Linked DNA regions of Homo sapiens: regions 2, 3 and 4 are each linked to region 1. The links are contacts of gene promoters, found by promoter capture Hi-C in blood cells and fetal thymus (Javierre and others, 2016). All regions are on one chromosome and are shown on one strand. Each heading gives the region's core, a stretch centred on a gene start or on the middle of the fragment in contact. The rest is flanking DNA. Distances are from core to core; before and after follow the strand shown.

Region 1 (4,592 bases), core at 969-3,468:
GCTGCCTTAACCTCAGGAGGCAGCAAGGGATAAAAGAAAAGGATCAGGATTTGGAAACTGGTAAGCCTAAATCAGTGCCAGCTCTTCAATTTACTATAATTTCATTTAATTAAAGAAGCCCGCAGTGATCATAATACATATCTCAAGTTCAGAGTGTTAAAATGGTGGGTGTCTTAGAATCAAAGAAATACAGTATCTATTTTTTTCATTACCTGAATTTCCACAACAGTAAAATGAGAATAATGTGAGGTGAGGATTAAACAAGATACAGTAAATGACTGGTGCCCTACTGTAACAAAGTTCATTACAGCAAAGATGAGCATGCCACAGCACCACATTGTGCTATCTGCTGCTACAGTCTGACATGACACACTTAGTCTTAAAGTTACATATTACTCTCTCCCTAACATGAGCATTATATATAAAGAGGTCTCACTGCAGTGGCAAATCCACAAGGCATTCTCATCACCCAAAACATAAAATACAAAAATCTTAATTCTAGATGAACCTAGGACAATCCCTATTTAATAACGTACTTTGGACTAAATAATTCAAACTGTTTTTGAGTGCATGTGTATTGACTCTTGAAGAAGAATGTGTTTAGAGACATTTCTTAAGTTTTAACCTACAGCTCTGTCATAAAGACAAGTGTAAAAGAAACATCAAACCAACACCAAAAATCGATTTTGACTAATCTCCTATCTGGTTCAATTCCTAGCTAGCTTGCTAGTTTGCATGAAGCCTCGCCTGCTTCTAACACTACCTTTAACCAGGAATTTCCTCATCTGTAAAATGAAGGGGTTGGACTTCAGTGAACTCCAAAGGCCCTTCTCGCCCCACAATCATATAATTCTACAGTTAAAGCTTACTGTAGAAAATGACACAGTACTCCAGTGTATCCTAATCTCTTCCAGGACAGTGTTTCTCAAACTAATGCGCATACAAATCACCCTGGGATCTTATTAAAACCCAGATTCTGATTGAACAGGTCTGGCCTGAGTATCTTCTAATTACCTGCCAGGTGGTGCTCATGATGCTGGTCTGTTGATCACACTGTAAGCAGCAAGGATCTAGGATACTTTCCTTAACCTCCCAGTTCCCCCAAAATATGACTGTCCCTGCTTCCATGCATCCTTATATACTTTTAGCATATCACTTTATTGTAACTACTTCTTGATCCACTTGTTTTCCTTTAGACTTTGAACTGGCTCAGGGCATCACTGTATCTCTAGCACCTAAACACAGCGCAATTTCAAACAGCGACCCAAAACTGAATTTCATAACGCAGTGTAGCACAAATCTTTTGCCCAACGTCACACAGATGTAGCGGTAATGCAAGTTTTTAACAACCAGTCCTTTAGACTCCCAGTCCAGTGCTCTTTCTCCTGTACCACAGTGCCTCCCTGAGGCAATCGGTCACTTAACTACTCAGTCTCTGCCTGGACAGCCCAAGAGTGCCCAAGATGTTGTCCACTTGGTTGTCGTGGGACCATGAGCAACCAGAGTCCTCAATCTCACAACTGTGCCTGATCTGCCCCATGCTGGATCTGACATCACTTGTCCTGGATTCCTGGAGACTCCTATTCTGAACCCTCTCCCAGACACCTCCTTCCAACCTTCCTGCAATTTCAGGTGCCACACTCTCTCCAAATTCAAACTCCGAACCTTCCACTGGGAACTCCTGCACTGATTTTCTTAGTCACCCCAAACTGTAAGGTCTCAAAGGACCATTAATCTGACACTCGGTCCGATGGTCCCTTAGAAGTGCGCCCACACACCGCCCCTAGGGTTCCACACCGAAGCGGTCCCCGTGCCCCAGGCACTTACGCTGCGCAGCGGAAAAGGCGGCGTGGGCTAGGGCAAAGAGACCGATGCCCACCAGCCCCTTCCACAGCGACGGCGCCATGATGCCGAAGGAGCAGCAGCCCAGCAAAAGAAGCGAAGGACGGCGGAGCTGTTTCTTCTTCCACCGGCGGGTGTCCGCGCGCCGCAGAAAGATGACGTCACTGAAGTCCTGAGCGCAAAGTGTCTCAGTGGTGGAAAAGCCAGAGGGCTGTGAGAAAACGGAAACAGGAATGCCGGGAAGAAGCAGAAAGCTACACGGAAAAAGGTCCGCGAGAACCCACGAACCTGCGCTATGGAGGCCTCTCTAGGAGGGCCGGAGCCCAACGGAGTCATAAACGAAGAGGCGAAAGCGGGAGCTACGGGGAAGCGAAGAGGAAGGGCGCCGGCAAATGGGGGCAGGGCCAGTGGCGAGAACAGGGTGGGGCAGAGGGACGGGGGCCTGCGTAGAGAACGTGTGGGGGCGAGGGGCGGGGTAGGCAGACGGGCGGGGTGGGGAAGACGCGCGGGGCCCGCACGAGGGTGGGTGTAGCCGAGGGGCGGGGCCAGTGGGTGGGTGGGTGGGCGTAGCCGGGGGGGGGGGGCCCTGGTGGGTGCGGTCGAGTGGCGGGGCCTGCGGGGAGGATGGGTGGGGCCGAGGGGCGGGGAGGAGGTGGGGCCGAGGGGCGGGGAGGAGGTGGGGCCGAGGGGCGGGGAGGAGGTGGGGCCGAGGGCGGGGCCTACGGGAGGATGGGTGGGGCGTAGGGGGCGGGGCGGAGGGGACGGAGAGTGGGTGAGGGCCGAGGGGGCGGGGAGGAGGTGGGACCGAGGGGCGGGGAGGAGGTGGGACCGAGGGGGCGCGGAGGAGTGGGACCGAGGGGGCGGGGAGGAGGTGGGGCCGAGGGGCGGGAGGAGGTGGGGCCGAGGGGCGGGGCTGGGGGCGTTGGGGAAAGGCGGTAGGTGCTGGATATAGACCCCTGACAGTTGTGTTTTGTGGGTTGGTTGGTTTTGGCTTTTTGTGAAACTGTGCCTTTTGTTTTCTGTAGGCCTTTCCTGTGCTTCAGCTCCCTGGAAACTGGCACTGCAGAAGGAGGCAAGGGTGTTAAAACGAGGAGGCAGTGTCAGGACAAAATCCCAGGATCTGGAACCCCAAATACTTGGCTCGCGGGAAGTGCTCAGTAAACCATTTTAAGGTCCTGGAGAAAGATTCGCGCAAAAAGAGGTGTAGCGCGGGGGGAGTGTTTTGTCGTGAAAAGAACCAGCTTACATTAAGGAAGAAATGAAAGAGGAAATTTTAAAATGCTAATAACGCAGCCTTCTTGCCTTGTCTCTATCTCTGATCCGGGTAAAATGTATACTCCTCTGCCCATTTTTCTTTGTCTTCATCTCCTGAAATGTAGACATTTAATAGTGAGCTTCTCCCCTTGACCTCATCACTCTGCTGTCCCCTGGGGAGCTCACCCATTCATTCCCACCGCTTCAGCCAGCAAAGGTATTACAGTGATTCCAAATCGACATCTCTATCACAAATATCTCTCCTTAGCTCCAGGGCTGCATTTCTGACTACCAGATAGGCATTTATTTCCTGTGGCACTTAAAACGTAATATGGCTAAAATGGAATTCATCCTTTTTTTCCAAATTCTGCACCAGTTCCTCCAGTGACCCCTGACTGAGTGGCAAAGCTTTGTAAACTGCATATCACAAGGTAAATGCAAAGTATGATCACCATTCTTTTCCTTTAACCCAATCAGAATTCTACGTTTTAGTTGCATCAATTTGCTTTTGCTCAAAGATGCGTCCTATCCTGACCACCCCTTTTAAATGTGCAAAATTCCTATTCCTGATCCCCTTATTCTGTTCTACTTTTTATATCACCTTCTAACATACTATATAATTTAACTATTTATGTTTGTTGTGTTACTGTTTACTGTCTGTCTTTCCCCACTGGAATGTAAGCTCTGAGAGAACAGAGATTTCTCTGTACCTAAAACTTTGACTGTCATGTGATAAGCATTCAATAAGTGCTTGTTGAATGACAAATGAATTCCGGAAAATAATTGGGACAGTATCCCTATTTGAAAGGATCTCTACAGAGAGTCCTTCCAATCTTTTGAATTGGGCTCAAAAATCCCCATGGACTTGCATGTACTCTCACATTTTGACAACCTTTTGATTGTAAACATTTTCTGATATGCTTGAGCTTCCTCAAAGCTGGAAAAACAAATAAGACATCTCATTAGCTGGGCATAGTAGCACATGCTTGTAGTCCTAGCTACTTGGGAAGCTAAAGAAGGAGGATTGCTTGATCCCAGGAGTTCAAGGCTACAGTGAGCCATGATTATGCCACTGCACTACAGGCTGAGTGACAGAGCGAGACCCTTTCTCTAACCAAAAAAAAAAAAAAAAAAAAGTAGAAGAAGACATCTAAAATTAATCATATTTCCTCAACTTTACTTATATAATTTTTGTCCTGGATCTCATTTTCCAAACCTTTAGTCATGTTCATTATTCTTTTCTGGGCCCTTTCCAATTTCTTCACCTCTAAGCCAGAATTTTACACAATACTTGATGGATGTCAAGTGCAGTATAATGCATTCCTTACAAATGTAGTTCTATTTATACAATCAGGAAGAACCAGGAGATAATCTCTCTGTAGTTGACAGGAAAGTGCTTCCTTCTCCGCCCCTGGGAGGTAATAAGGTAGAAAAGATAGTTGACCAAAAAAATCTTACAACTTTGTTTTGTCTAAAATAATGGTCAGATTGAAATT
Region 2 (4,592 bases), core at 1,206-3,705, 4.1 Mb before region 1:
CACACACACACACACACACACACACACACACACACACACACTTCCATTTCTTTTCTTCAAATCCATCCTCATTGGTCCCACTACACATAGAATTTGGTGCCCTGAATTCTCAATTCAACACTAGAAAATGAGTACTCTCCAATATCATTAACTTTTCTTGAGGAACAAGATAGTTTTTTATGGTTAAATCTCATAGCATTCTTTTACTGTTGATCAAACCGTAAGAATTATATGCATCTGGAAAAAAATCAGTAAGTGGAACAAATATATAGCAGTAAAGAAATGATACTCTTAAGAAGTTTAATAGATATTCCATTGATGTTTGTTATATTGCATTCTGCTCTTTTTATTATATAATTGTACATGTGTGGGCACATGTGGACAGGTTGTCAGGATTTGGTGACTTTTTACTTACATGATATATGAGGAATATCCTTGCATGATACATGAGGAATATCCTTGCAACTTGAGTTGCTTCTTTCTATCATAGTTTTCTCAGGTCTCACATCACATAAGTCTCATCATATGTCGTGAAATATGCTTCAGAAAGCTGGATTTTCTGTTAAGTAAAATTTGGAAATAGAATTTCAGAATAGAGCCTTTAAATCTTGCATGTGTGTAGAAGTGTGTATGTTTTAAAGAAAAATACATCTTGTAATATGTTGTTTTCCTAATTATATATTGAGATGATGCTGGTTTCTTGATTTTTAAAAAACTTGCAAATGTAAGCTTTTCTCATTTTCAACATTTCAAGGCTTTGGACAAGTGTAAGTTAAAACGTGAAGGCAAGTCATTAGAAACATCACTGTAGAAAATTACACACTGTTAGTTGCTTGACTGGGGAACTTTCCAGATAACTTCCTTTCTGCCTATTTGCTTTTCTGAACCAATAGGTTTATGTGTTCAACTTGAATTAATAACATATGTAATTAAGAGAGAAAGAAAGACTTCATCTTTCATTTCTATTTCCTTGCTATTAGCCAACCAGAATGGTTTGATTCCCGTTACAACATTTCACATTTTCTTCCCTAAATCAGAGGTGTGGTCATCTCCCCTATTGAGGACTTGGCGAATGGATTTCAATCTTTCCAAAGGCTTAAAAAGACTACCTACTATAGCTGAACTTACTGTAGTTGAACTTGGACAATGGATGTTTTGCCCCCTCCCCACCGCCATCCTTGCAAAAGAAATCTCAGCGATCCTCTTTGTCCTCTCCTTTCTACTTTCCTGTGGGAGTTTGGCTGTGCGATCACTTTCAAGAGGTAGTCTCTGGACAAAGGGTATGCTCATGTGAAAGGTTAAATGATTTGGCCTGTTGACCTTCAAAGAGGTGTACCAATTAACAGTGCTTCTCACCTGGTAGGACCTTGTCCAATTCTACAAATCATTACACAAACACTGACATCAATGGATTCCTTTTCAAAGGCTTGCTCGGGGTTATGATGAAGATTTAAGGGCATTATGGAAGAATACAGTGAACTGCAATTTACTTCAGTACTGGTGAATTTGAGACTGTGATAATAGAGGTGCCTTATTCCTTTGCCATCTTTCCTGCTGAGTGGTTTTCTTTTTAACTACATTTTGAAACAGCTTTTGATCTGAGCTGACTGTCAATGATTGAGTGGTATTGAGAGTTGGCAATAGTTATAATCTCCCATTCCTGGTCACGGTGTCACGTTTGAATTCCTGGGACTCAGCAAGTTGCTGCTGCTTTAGGCCTCTATCCACTCTCTGACCAGATAGTCTCTTAATGTAAACCAAAATGTGTGGGAATACAAAATTCCTGACCCTGAGGAATTCTAGGGCTGGGGCTACCTCTCTGTCACTCACAATTCTAAGTTAAGTTATGGTGCACTGTCTCCACACATCTGGCTTTCCTAGTCTAGCATATGGTCAAGTCAAACTGTGACTCAACAGCAGGCAGCCTAACCCATCTGATGCAGGGTTTCTCTCAGTCACCTGCTTAGCTGAAGTAGGCTGAAAAGGTCAGAGGTCACCTTACACTTTCATAAGGTATTTGAGACCATTGAGACATGCTTTCTCAAATGTTTTCAAACCCTTCTTGGCTCATGTCAACCTATAACATCCTCAAGGACAGCTAGACCAAGGCATGAATAGCAGGAAAGTCAATTTCCCCAGGGACCCTATGGTCTTTGTAGTAGTTGCTAAAAACTTCCTAGTAGATGTTATAGCTCCACCCTGGGCAAGTAGAATTCAGGTGGTGACCATATGTTACAGCAGTGCATGAGAATAACATTCCTTTCTCTTCTGTAAGTGGTCAGCCACTGAATCCATCACTGATACACGAGAAAACTCTCACATGCAGTCAATCTTACAAAATTTTTGCCTTTTCTTGCTATGCTATGGGCAAGTGTCCTGAGGGTCCTGATGTGCTCAGCTTTTAGAGGGCTTACAAGGAATCTTCATTAGAAAAAGGCTAAGAAGCAGGCACAGAGAACAATACTTGCTAATCTGAATGAACAGTTAGGTCCCAAGTCTCAATGGCCTCATCTTCCTTAGGGGAAGGCCAATAGCTAAAGAACTCATTTCTGTTCCTTTAATAGAGCTAAGAGTAGGTTTCTCTAAATAGGTAGGCCTTCACACTGGGCCCTAGAAAAAGTGCTGCAAAGCCATGGTAGCTGTTACCTCCTGGCTTCAGAAAATACTTCCAGGTCTTCTGGTTGTGTATATCTGCACTCCTATTGATGTTCAAGGATTTATTGGCTTGGCCAAGTGACACACACTGCCTTCTCCTCAGGTCTTCCTTGCTCTAGGCAATGGGGGCACCAGACTTTTAGGTATCCTTGAGACCCCCAGAAAGCACGCTGGCTGCTGTTAGATATCATCTGGAATGAGATGTTTCATCTGCACCCTAACATTGCTTACACCTTGTGCCAACCCCCTACCTCATTGTTCAAAGGGCATGGCCAGAGGATATGTGGCCAGAAGTCCCCCCAAATAGGATCTGAGCCATTTGTTTTAGCCCCACCCTCACTGGGTAGATATCTAAGCCCCAATACTTCCTATACTCCACCTGCCTAGTAGCTGTCCCTTCAGTCCTCCCCCTGACCCCCCACTTATCAGCTTCTCCCCCAGGATCCTGCCTTTGTCCAGAGCTCCTGGAAGGCTTCAGATTTAAAGTGAAGGGGACCTACTTAGGGCTAGGGTCCACTCAACCTCACAAAAGGCCCAACATTTCTCAGTTGCTAAAACTTGGGGGGGCTCTAACAACTTTGGGTTTGTGTTTTGTCAAACTACATCCTCTTGATGGCAGTATTGCTCTGGAAAAGCTGATTAGCCTTGCCTGGGCACCCCACCCCCAGAGCCCTTCTCCTCTCACCCATTCAATCTGAAAAAAGCTACCAAGACAAAGGAGACAGGAAACAAAGCTGCCTTGCTATTGGCCCTGTTTGGGGAAAATCTGCTCTTTCGAATTTACTTTTGCTCCTGGTTTCCCTCTGAACTCAGACTGAAGCCTATACCACCCAGTTTCATCAGCCATACTTTGTTTAAAGAATCCCATTTCCGATAGCATTAGGAGATATACCTAATGCTAAATGACGAGTTAATGGGTGCAGCACACCAGCATGGCACATGTATACATATGTAACTAACCTGCTCATTGTGCACATGTACCCTAAAACTTAAAGTATAATAATAATAAAATTTAAAAAAACAAAAAAATGCCCATTTCCACTCTACCATAGCTTTGTAGGTCTGCTCTTCTTCATTCAACCTTGATCCCCAACAATTTCCCAAGTTATCTGCTTCAGTGGGAAATTCTTAGGGACCTAGGGCTAAGAAAGTGAAGAAAATAATGGAAATAACAGCCTAGAGAAGAACAAATCTAGGCACCAGGCCATGTGACTTGTTTCACTGCCAGGTTCCCTGGGAGTCCTCCATTTTCTGACCTGGGCACTAGGTCTTGTGTATTGAGTTGGGGGCAGCCATGTCAGAACCCTAATAGGAGGGTCCAGATAGATCTCAAGGCTGAATTCCATACAATATCCCTCTTGGGGTGACACACACACTCCAAACTTACAAAATTCCAGTAGAAAGGAACATGATTTTGTCTTATGGTTCCATCATTCAACATTAAAACACAAGCAAGTTCCCATGCACATCATTATTTGACTTTTAATGGCTTCCTATGGCTTTATTATATATGTGTGTGCCACTGCTTAAGCTTAGGAATCAGTCTTATGGTGTTTCCTCATAAGTAATTAAGACATGGTGCTTGTAAAGAATTTAGAAAATAACCATGTGCTGATCAAGAACAAAAGCACTGTCATAAAATCTTGTATTAAACACTAATAGCCTTTTGCATATTTACTCCCATTATTTCAACATGCACAGAGGTCTATATTTACGGTAATACACTACAATAAGCATATTTAAATTAAATTTATATATGCATCATGTTTTAGATGCAAACTTTTCACTGCTCATTCCTGGGTAACTGAAATTGTCATGAAATATTTGCAAGACCTGGATTTTAGATAATAAAATATTTGCAATGAGCTTCTTGATTGACTAATTCATTAAAGAATGTTAGGTTCTCAATTTTTAAAAAATTTATACACAGGACATAA
Region 3 (4,592 bases), core at 633-3,132, 4.0 Mb after region 1:
CAAGGCCCAGGAATCTGTATTTATAGTAAGCATACAGGATTATTATTATTTGAGATGGAGTTTTGCTCTTGTTGCCCAGGCTGGAGTGCAATGGCACGATCTCGGCTCAGTGCAACCTCTGCCTCCCAGGTTCAAGTGATTCTCCCGCCTCAGCCTCTCAAGTAGCTGGGATTACAGGCCTGTGCTACCACTCCTGGCTAATTTTGTAGCCCAGTCTGAAATGCATAAGCTTCTTGGTGGCTGCTTCCTAAACTGATCATTCTTCATCTGTTATTACTGACTCAGACTGTGTTACCAATTCAGCTCAAAACAATTAAACAAGTATTAATTGAACATCTACTGTTTACCTGATGCTGTGCTAACTGCAAGATCATTTTCAAGAACACTTCTGATTTTTCCAAGAATACCTTGGTAAAGAGAAAGGGACTAGGAAAACATTGCCACATTAATACTTTATGACAACATATAATAGAGACGTCTAAAAAACAAATGATGATATCTGCTTGAACAGCAATATCATCAACATCACCAATCCTCCCATATTCCATTAAATACATATGGCACAAGAAATCAATGATTTCTACTTCACAAATACAGGTTAACCTTCTAAATCTGGAAATCCACGGTCCATTATCATTTATAAATCACATCTTCTATTATCAAGAAGTCAGCCGACCCAGTAATCCGTCCATACACTGCAATAATTGAGGGGCTGTCTGCCAATGTGTGGGCATAGGGCATCCTGTGCCCATATCTGCAGTGCTGAGCACTCATTCATCATTAAGCTGCAGCAGTGTTAACATATGCTGCAGTTGTGCCAGTATGTTTTGTTTTACGATCACCGCTAATCTACCCTTATACCAGGCCAAGAAGGTAAATGTTAAGTGAAAGGAAATAAACTCGAGAGCCAGCACCTAATTCATTTGTGGAAGCCCAGAACCTCCCTCCACCTAACCAGAAAAACTCCCCCAGTCTCGAGGGTTCCAGATGTAAAAGGTTCATCTGTATAAAGCACTACAGATGTACAGGAAATTCCACCACCTTGAAGAAAAAAATAGTATTTTTTTTTTATATCCCATGCATTCACCCTCTTTGAGAGAACTGAATAACCATGTTAGACAAGCAATGAGCCTTGATTTTTTCCATCACTCAACAAACCAGTATTTGATTTCACTCAGTGGGCTAGTTCTTTGCACATCATGCAGACACAGCAAGGTTAGTTATGGTTCTTTCAGGGGCCACTGGCCATCCTTTACCTCCTAGAACCCACTGCTCAGCAGGTGGTAAACTGGCAGCTTTTTGAAAAAACAAGCTCTTTTGAACAGTTGCATCAATATAAAAATGGCCAGCTTCACCTGCCCAAATCTCAATTCAGCTAAAAGTTAATTAGGAACACTGGAAACTACCTGGTATATAGGCACTCAATATTACTCACTAAATGGCTGAATTATTAGCAATAAGCATAAACAAAAGGAACAAACAGTAAACACTTACAGAAAGTATTCAGGACACATTCAGAGTTTTATGTTGCTTAGTCACTAAAAGGTAGATCAGGAAAAAAGAAGACAAAACCTGCTTTCACTTGTGTAAAGATTTATTTCAAGTTACAGTGGTTCATTTCTAAATAAGTTTCCCACCTTGCGTGGGGTCAGCCTAGCATCTATTTGCAAAAGAGCAGTTTGCCATGCGTAGGTCAGATGAAAGGAGACAAATGCAAGAAACTCCTTTTTAACTGACATCCAAACAACCAGAAAATAACTGATATTGTACAATCTATTTTTAGTAGAAAGAAAAATGACAAGTATGTAATAGTAACTTATTCACAAAGATCAAATTTCATGGTATGTCACAAATGTATTCAATGCAATGCAGTTACCATGCCCTCTATATCTATAGTTGTGTATGTAATGATAATTACAGCTCAGGAAGACAGGAACCTTGTCTGTCTTGCTCATCTACGACCCCAGGATTGACTGCAGTGCCCAGCACATAGTAGGTGCTCAGTGAATATTTGCTGAATGATAATTGCTCTGCAAAACCATACAATGCCTTAATCATCTAAGAAAGAGGCCAGGCATGCTGGCTCTTGCCTGTAATTCCAGCACTTTGGGAGGCCGAGGTAGGGAAATCGCCTGAGGTCAAGAGCTCGAGACTAGCCTGGCCAACATGGTGAAACCCCGTTTCTACTAAAAAATACAAAAAATTAGCCAGGCGTGGTGGCAGGCGCCTGTAATCCCAGCTACTAGGGGGGCTGAGGCAGGAGAATCGCTTGAACTCGTGAGGCGGAGGTTGCAGTGAGCCAAGATCGTGCCATTGCACTCCAGCCTGGATGACAAGAGTAAGACTCTGTCTCAAAAAAAATAACAATAAAAATAAAAATAAATAAAAGAAGGGGATATTTTGTGGCCGGGCTCATGCAGATGGCAGATCCTGGGACTTCTCAGCCTCTGTAACTGCATGATCCAATTCCCATAATAAATCTCAAAAAAAAGGAAAAAAAAAAAGATTATACTATGGTCAGTATAGCTTTCGGCATTAGATGTATTTATTCTAATTCTTAGAATACTAGTAATGTATACGGTATACCCCAACTAACAAGAACTCATTCTTTGCTCATTCTGCATAAGAGCGGGTTTACAATAATCACTATCTGTAAGTAAAGGTTATTATTTATGGGATACATACAAAAGTTGTTCTTTCAAAAAATATTTTACTGAACACCTACTAGGGACCAGGCACTGTGCTAGGAGCTAAGAACACACTGTGAACTGTCCCTGTCTAGGACAGCCTTTCTCAATTAGGGTTCCTTCACTCCAGCTGCGCAGGAAAATGTTAATTTATTACTAACAATGCATGTCCTAGGGCATCAGTGCCAATTCTCTCCATGTTGAGAAAGACTAGGGAGCCATACAAGTTAAAAGGCAATTATAACACAATATGATTTAAAAAAAAAAAGTTGCTTTTAAGTATGGTCAAGTTCAACTGCTAAACCTAGACCTCTATGAACAGCCATGTGGGAGCCGAGATACACAGACCATTTGTAATAGTTGTGCAAATGTAAAAATATTGCAATACATACATACAGATATATTTCTAAACACAGTAAAATAAAATCAATATTTTCCCGCTCGTCAATGTCAGGCCAGGATTATTAGTAAAGTGAAACAGAAAAAAAAAAATGTTTAATTACTCTGATAGTTTAAAGGGGAAACTAAAAACCTTCTTGCTCCTGGGGAAAAAACAAAGCAATTACCTGAACTATTTTCTTAATTGCCTCCATATATTGCTTCATTAGACTAGCCTTGCCTTGGACTCAAAGCAATAAATTAGCTACCTATTTCATTAATTCTTATTTTGTATTTTTTAGTCTTATTTTAAATTTCCATTCTTCCTTATGCAGTCTAATTTCTTCCTAGTCCTGGGCATCTTCTGTGTGATATTATGATTATATGCTACATGCTTTATGAAACCAAAGCAGTTTAAGGGCTTCTAGAATCAGAGATTTAAATGTACTCCAGTATTTCACACTCACAATTAAGCTTTCATGTATCAAAGGTCTAGAAATGCATACCTGTTAACTATCACTGACAAGCTAAACTGACAGCATCCTCTTGACCAAGCCCCCAACCTACTTTATCAAGAAATCTCTTATTTTGAATCTTTAGTATAAAATAATTTCATAAGCCAAAAAGAGGGGGGAATTGTTTTTAGACTTTCAATAAATCTTTAAACCCAAGAGAACACGTTACTATAGTCACTAGGAATTGCATTAAGAATAAAACAAGACAGGATAACATAAAAGTCCATGACCCTTAAATCTCAACTAGTCCAGACTTCTGATTAAATATGCCTTTGAAGAAAATAAATTGTACAGACAGAGTTATTATTACTTATTTACTGTATTTATGGAGATGTTGACTTGAGAACAGGTGGTGCTTTTATTGCACTCAGAGACATCCAACTCTTAAATCCTTTAGGACACCCTCTACATGCCTCAACCCTAAAATGCTATACACCAAATCCACCAATTTCTTTCCACCTCAAAACTGTCAAAAGGAAAGTCATAATTCATCAGAAAGAAAGGAACACAGTTATTAATGGCAAAGAAGTCAAGACCATGTATTTAAAAAAATACAATGAATCACTATTTTCTTTTAGCTTGAAATTGGAAAACTCGAAAAATAAATGGCATTTCAAAAATGATTCAGCAAACACAACTGAGCTATAGAAGATGATGCTTGTAAGAATCCTAAGGGATTCTTCCACGTCAGGTTTAAAATATAAAGGAAGCACTTCTCTAATATGTAGTCTAGTTTTCAATAACCAACAACTACAATCAACACCACTGTAATTTATTTCACAATCAAAACCAATATCAGACACGTACAGGTACACTAAAAAAACAACTCATTTTGAAAGGAATTCATAGCTCTATTTCTAAAATATTAAAACAATCATAAGACAACTCACAACCTTGACTACATCTATACTGCTGTGAAAGTCTCAAAGTTCCACTCAAATCTTTAATTCTAGTCTTCTAGTAATTCAAATGGAAGTACCCCTCAAAGAATTTGTCAGGCAAAAGAGGAGAA
Region 4 (4,592 bases), core at 1,260-3,759, 4.0 Mb before region 1:
CAATCCCATGTAAAAACTCAAGTGATCTCTATCAATTATAACAACAACTGATGCTTTATTTAATAGCAGTAAACCTAAATAAAGGCTAAAAAGCTCACTAAGATCTCAAATGCAATGTCTTTCAGGAAATGTCTCAATATTCCAGGTCTCAGCATTAAGCTTTTATTCTTCCACATAGTTACATAACTCTGGCCCAGAATGATGTCAGAGAAAGTCATTTCTCTGATATGCTTAATTTACTTATCTATCAAAATTATACAACTGGCTCATAAGTAGTTGTGAAATTAAACTAGCAGGAAAGAATTTTGGAGACTAAATAATGAAAGATGTAACACACAATAAACTGAACAATTTAAATGTTCAGTAAGGGCAATGCCTAGGGGTTTAACCTGACATCAATAAAATATATAGTGTATACATTATGCACCTAGTAACCTCAGTGGAGAATTCAAAAGAAGTTCATTCATTCATTCAACAATTATTTATTGAGGGCCTACTACATGCCATGAACCTAGTCTCTGGGGATACAGCAATGGACAAAATGTATAAAAAGCTTGCCCTCAGACTCCTGCCATCCTACCTGAATCATTCTCATGTAAGAGAGGCTGGATCTCTGCCCTCAAGGACCTAATATGGGCACACAAAACAAATGAAATATATGAAATAAGAAGAAAGAACTACAGTGTGAGCGCTGCTCACATTGGAGGAGTTTGAAGGAGGGCTTGGAGCAACTAGGAAGGGTCAATGGAGGTGAGATTTGAGACAGGTCTTAAATGATGGAGCTTGATTCAGACCCTTGCGACTTAAAAGTGTGATCTAAACATCATCACCATGTGAGAGCTTGTTAGCATTGCAGAATCTTGGGCCCAGTCCAGACATGGGAGATAAAAATCTGCGCTTTTGAGGGAGCAAAAGAACCCTCGGATTTCTATGGACATTAAAAGTTTAGGTGGCACTGCAGGTTTCCGGTCAGGCTGGCAATGTTGTGAGCTGGGTTGGTGGGAAATCGAGACTAGATTGGAGCCTAACATTAGGTTAGAAATAGTGAAGGGCTGGACTTGGGGAACTAGGAGTAAGGAAAATGCAATTGTACCTTTTATCATCATTAAACACAAACAGAAACCATAGAGAAAGTAGTAAGTTTATCACCAGTCAGAGGGACCTGCGTCTGAATTCCCAGCTGTACCACTTCTTAATTGCGTGACATTTCGGTCAAATTATTTAACCTGGTTGAGCCTTTTTCTTCATCTGTAAAATGAGGGGAAATCAATAAGACTCCAGAAGGCCCTTGTACAGGTTCAGTAAGGTATTAATAACACATAGAAAGCACTTAGCAGTCCCTGGCACAATGAAAATAATATCCATTAATAATAACGATATTGATAAGAATTATATACTATTCTCTGAAAAAGATTTAAAAGGAAGAAGAGAAACTATCTTTTACCACTAGAGGCCCCCCACCGTGTGGTGCGTAGAGACCCATAACAAATTTCAAGGTAAGGAACTTCATCTTCATTTTAAACTGGCACTCGACTATTACTTTTTTAAAAAGTAATTAACCCCTTACGTGTTCCCAAAGGTGCCTTCATAATGAAATTCCTGTTACTATTATTACCAGTGTTACTGTCGCTACTGTTAGAGTACTCTCAAAAGAGCCTGTCTCCCTCTCCTGGAGTAGAACTTAAAATGGGGCGGAGGCAGGGAGTTACCAAAACCACTGCAGTGTATGCTGATTTCAATAACCTGTACTGCTAACGATCCAATCTCATTTCCCAAGCCTCTACTATCCTCATTAATTTTTCTGCCGATGTACCATCTGTTTTCCAATTTCCCTCTGCCTTACACGTGCAGAACTTGTGGTAGAGAGAAGCCCTAGTTTGGCCGTTCTGCAAGGGATAGCCCAGGAGGTAGGGGGAACCTTAAGTTGAAGTCACCTGAAGCATGTTTGGGGTCAGGGAACTCGGAAAGCAAGAGTGTGGCCACAGATCTGCCCAGAGGCGCGACCCCCAGCTGAGGAGACCAGATGGCGGGAAAAAGCGGGGGTCCACCGACTCCGCGGCTATCTGTAATCCTACCCTTGGCCAGGCCGGGGAGCCAAGAAAGACTTCCAACACTCCCCAAGTTTCAGCTCAAGTCGTCTCCGAGGCTGCGTGTGCCCCAGCCTCGCACGCCTCCCTGCAACGTGGCCGCATCTGGGGCGCCCTCATACCCTCAGGGTTTCCCAAACTCTTCCATTCTCTTCCCAGGCCCAGCCATGTCCCAGGTCTCCGGGTCCCCGGGTTCTCCTCTCCGCGTGCCGGGAGAGTCTCCAGCTTCTCAGACTCCAGCAACCCCAGCCAAACCTCTTCGCTGCCTGGAGCCTTGGCTCCCGCGACACCGCCCGGCTGCGGGGCGGGGGCAGGGCCAACGGCGGAACCGCCCCCAACCGCCTCCCAGGCCAGGCGAGCAGGCGGGTGGCTGGGGCGCCTCCACCTCCTCTTCCTAAAGCGGCGAGGCGCAGAGGAGCGGCATCACTCGAGCCCAGGTCCCAGCCACCACCACTCACAGCGCTCGGCGTTCAGGAAGAGGAGCAGCAGCGGAGGCGGCTGCTTCAGCGGCGGGCGGGCGCCAGAAAGGTAGACTGAGTCCCAGGGAGCTGCGCCGCTAACAGCCCACCTCCTAGCCCCGGGCTACGCGCCGCCAGCCCAGTAACCCCACTTTTGTGTGTCCTCCCAGGCCCCGATCGAAAAGCCTGGGAGGGCCGCCGAACTACCCCCGGAGGGAGGAGCCAGTCCGAACCCAAGGCGCCACCGCCGCAGAAGCGGAGCGAGGCAGCATTCGCCTCCATGGCCCACTCGCCGGTGGCTGTCCAAGTGCCTGGGATGCAGGTGAGGAAGCGCAGGCCGCCCCCGCCGCCCACGTGACTGCTTGGGAGCCCGGTGCGCCCTCGGTGCTGGGCACCGGCGACAAGGGACGGCCCCAGGGCTCCCCTGAGGGCAGGGCCGGTCACTATGGCCAGGTGACCTGGGAGTAGGGCTGGAGGTGTTTCCTGGTGTGTAGGCTAGGTAGTGCTCTTCGCTGGGAAGGCGAGGCGGGACTGGAGCGCGCAACTAGGTGGAGATTGAGGGCGGTTGGGGGTATAAAAATAGGCCAGAGCCACAGACACCTGCGCCTGCTGAGCTTGGCACGGTTGGGGATGGGGGGGCGGAACTTAACCTGGGAGAGATGGAAGTGCCTTGGAATTTGTGGGGTATAACGCGAGTAGTGAGTGCCCTACACCCCCCACCCCAAACACACACTCAAGTTGGGGCGGGGCAACACCAGGGGTGGCGGCGGCGGCGGCTTGAATTGGGCTCTTCCTGTGTGCGTAGGGCTAAGAGAGAGGTGACCTCTTTCTCCCTTTCGGTACTGCTGCTTAAGGGCAAAGTTGTAGCTTGCTCCCCGACCTAGCCCAGCCCATAGTGTGGCGTGAGAAATGCTGGTTCTGTTCAGAGTCACTGAGGTGATGACTTCTCAGCCCCCTCCGTGCCTTTCCCACAAGATGACTGTTACATGTGGTTAAAGGAAGCTTTTTGTCTTGGACAAGGGACTACTGCATGGGACCCAACTTGTTACTCGAAGTCTACCCAGCCCAACCCCCTCCCATTATATTTTCATTTTATTAAAGATAAGCTATGTCAGAAAACTTTTTATGCTGTTATGTTTTTAAATCGGTGCATTTTAGGCTATCTGCTAAGTGTTATCCAAATTTACTAACTTTTTAAAGCATTCATGTTCTATTTTTTTTTCCTTTGCTAGATGGCCTAAACAACCCATTTAGGGGCTAAAACCACTGAAGCCTCAGTCTTTCATGATCTAAAATGTGAAAACAAACTTTTTTGAAGTTCAAAAATAAAATGTTTATAGTAAATAGCTTATATTTCTAGTAGAAATCAAAGAGCTGTAGACTGGGGCCTCAATTTACTTATTGATACATGGAGTTTTTTTTTTTTTTTCAGTGTTCTCATTTTATGAATGTCCACAAAAGTGATTTTTAAATTCTTTCCCAAAATGGGATTTATTTGTGCACCTAGAACTCTTGGTGTGTCCTAAACACCAGACATTTCAGCTGCATTTAGGGCAAGTCTGGGTTGAGTCTCAGGAAGTTAGTGTATATTAAATAAAGAGAGAGAGAGAAAGGGAAATAGGAAATAGTAGGGCTTAAAAAAAAAGATTAATCCACTCAAGCCTTGCAAAATGCCTTAAACTTTCTTCCTCTCAGGCGGCCTCCCCTCTCCTTCCCTCCTTCTTTTCCCCACGCACCCTGCCCCACACCCCATTCATTCAGTTCTGCCTTTGATTGTATCAAGGGAATTCATAGTTCACAATACTAAGTACAGTTTTGCTGTTTGATCTGGGAAAAAGTGACATTTTCTCACCGTGCTCTTCTTTCCATTCTGTGGAGAGTAAAACGATGCACATGTGAAGTTTGTCTCTGAGGGTCTCCATGCTTCTCGCTCCATTGTGTGCGCGAGCCTGCGTGTGTGCGTCAGCAGAGTGAGTGCCTCCAGTTCATCAAGTTTGTGATTCTGGGGAACTCTGTGTGCTGAGGGGAAAATGGTTTCTGATTTTTA

The links. The method cuts DNA at HindIII sites, captures the fragments that hold promoters and counts their contacts. A CHiCAGO score of 5 or more calls a contact.
Region 2: a fragment that was not itself captured here is called in contact with the fragment with the promoter of MMGT1 in region 1 in 1 of 17 cell types (monocytes); the score reaches 7.3 in monocytes.
Region 3: a fragment that was not itself captured here is called in contact with the fragment with the promoter of MMGT1 in region 1 in 1 of 17 cell types (activated CD4 T cells); the score reaches 5.3 in activated CD4 T cells.
Region 4: a contact is called between the fragment with the promoter of STK26 here and the fragment with the promoter of MMGT1 in region 1, in 2 of 17 cell types (non-activated CD4 T cells and naive CD4 T cells). The highest score is 5.9, in non-activated CD4 T cells.

The regions. Positions count from the first base shown.
Region 1 is chrX:135,971,770-135,976,361 of GRCh38, forward strand. MMGT1 (membrane magnesium transporter 1) reads right to left here and starts at 2,219. Exons shown (of 4, transcript NM_173470.3): 1 at 1,828-2,219. The coding sequence starts at 1,906. It also overlaps a transcript of SLC9A6 not described here. RefSeq lists an enhancer at 1,768-2,297 and a silencer at 2,308-2,417. The HindIII fragment of the contact is 2,640 bases long and covers 863-3,502 here.
Region 2 is chrX:131,824,807-131,829,398 of GRCh38, forward strand. FIRRE (firre intergenic repeating RNA element) reads right to left here. Exons shown (of 10, transcript NR_152876.1): 2 at 416-559. Among named protein-coding and RNA genes, the nearest start is that of FIRRE, 3.5 kb to the right of the region's middle. RefSeq lists an enhancer at 1,256-1,756. The HindIII fragment of the contact is 3,457 bases long and covers 728-4,184 here.
Region 3 is chrX:139,925,252-139,929,843 of GRCh38, forward strand. The region is part of intron 1 of ATP11C (ATPase phospholipid transporting 11C (ATP11C blood group)); the gene reads right to left. Among named protein-coding and RNA genes, the nearest start is that of MIR505, 3.3 kb to the left of the region's middle. The HindIII fragment of the contact is 3,310 bases long and covers 228-3,537 here.
Region 4 is chrX:132,020,793-132,025,384 of GRCh38, forward strand. It overlaps STK26 (serine/threonine kinase 26), which reads left to right and starts at 2,510. Exons shown (of 12, transcript NM_016542.4): 1 at 2,510-2,615; 2 at 2,716-2,867. The coding sequence starts at 2,826. RefSeq lists enhancers at 2,058-2,604, 2,092-2,141, 2,592-2,751, 2,605-3,152, 3,122-3,191 and a silencer at 2,302-2,551. The HindIII fragment of the contact is 2,994 bases long and covers 552-3,545 here.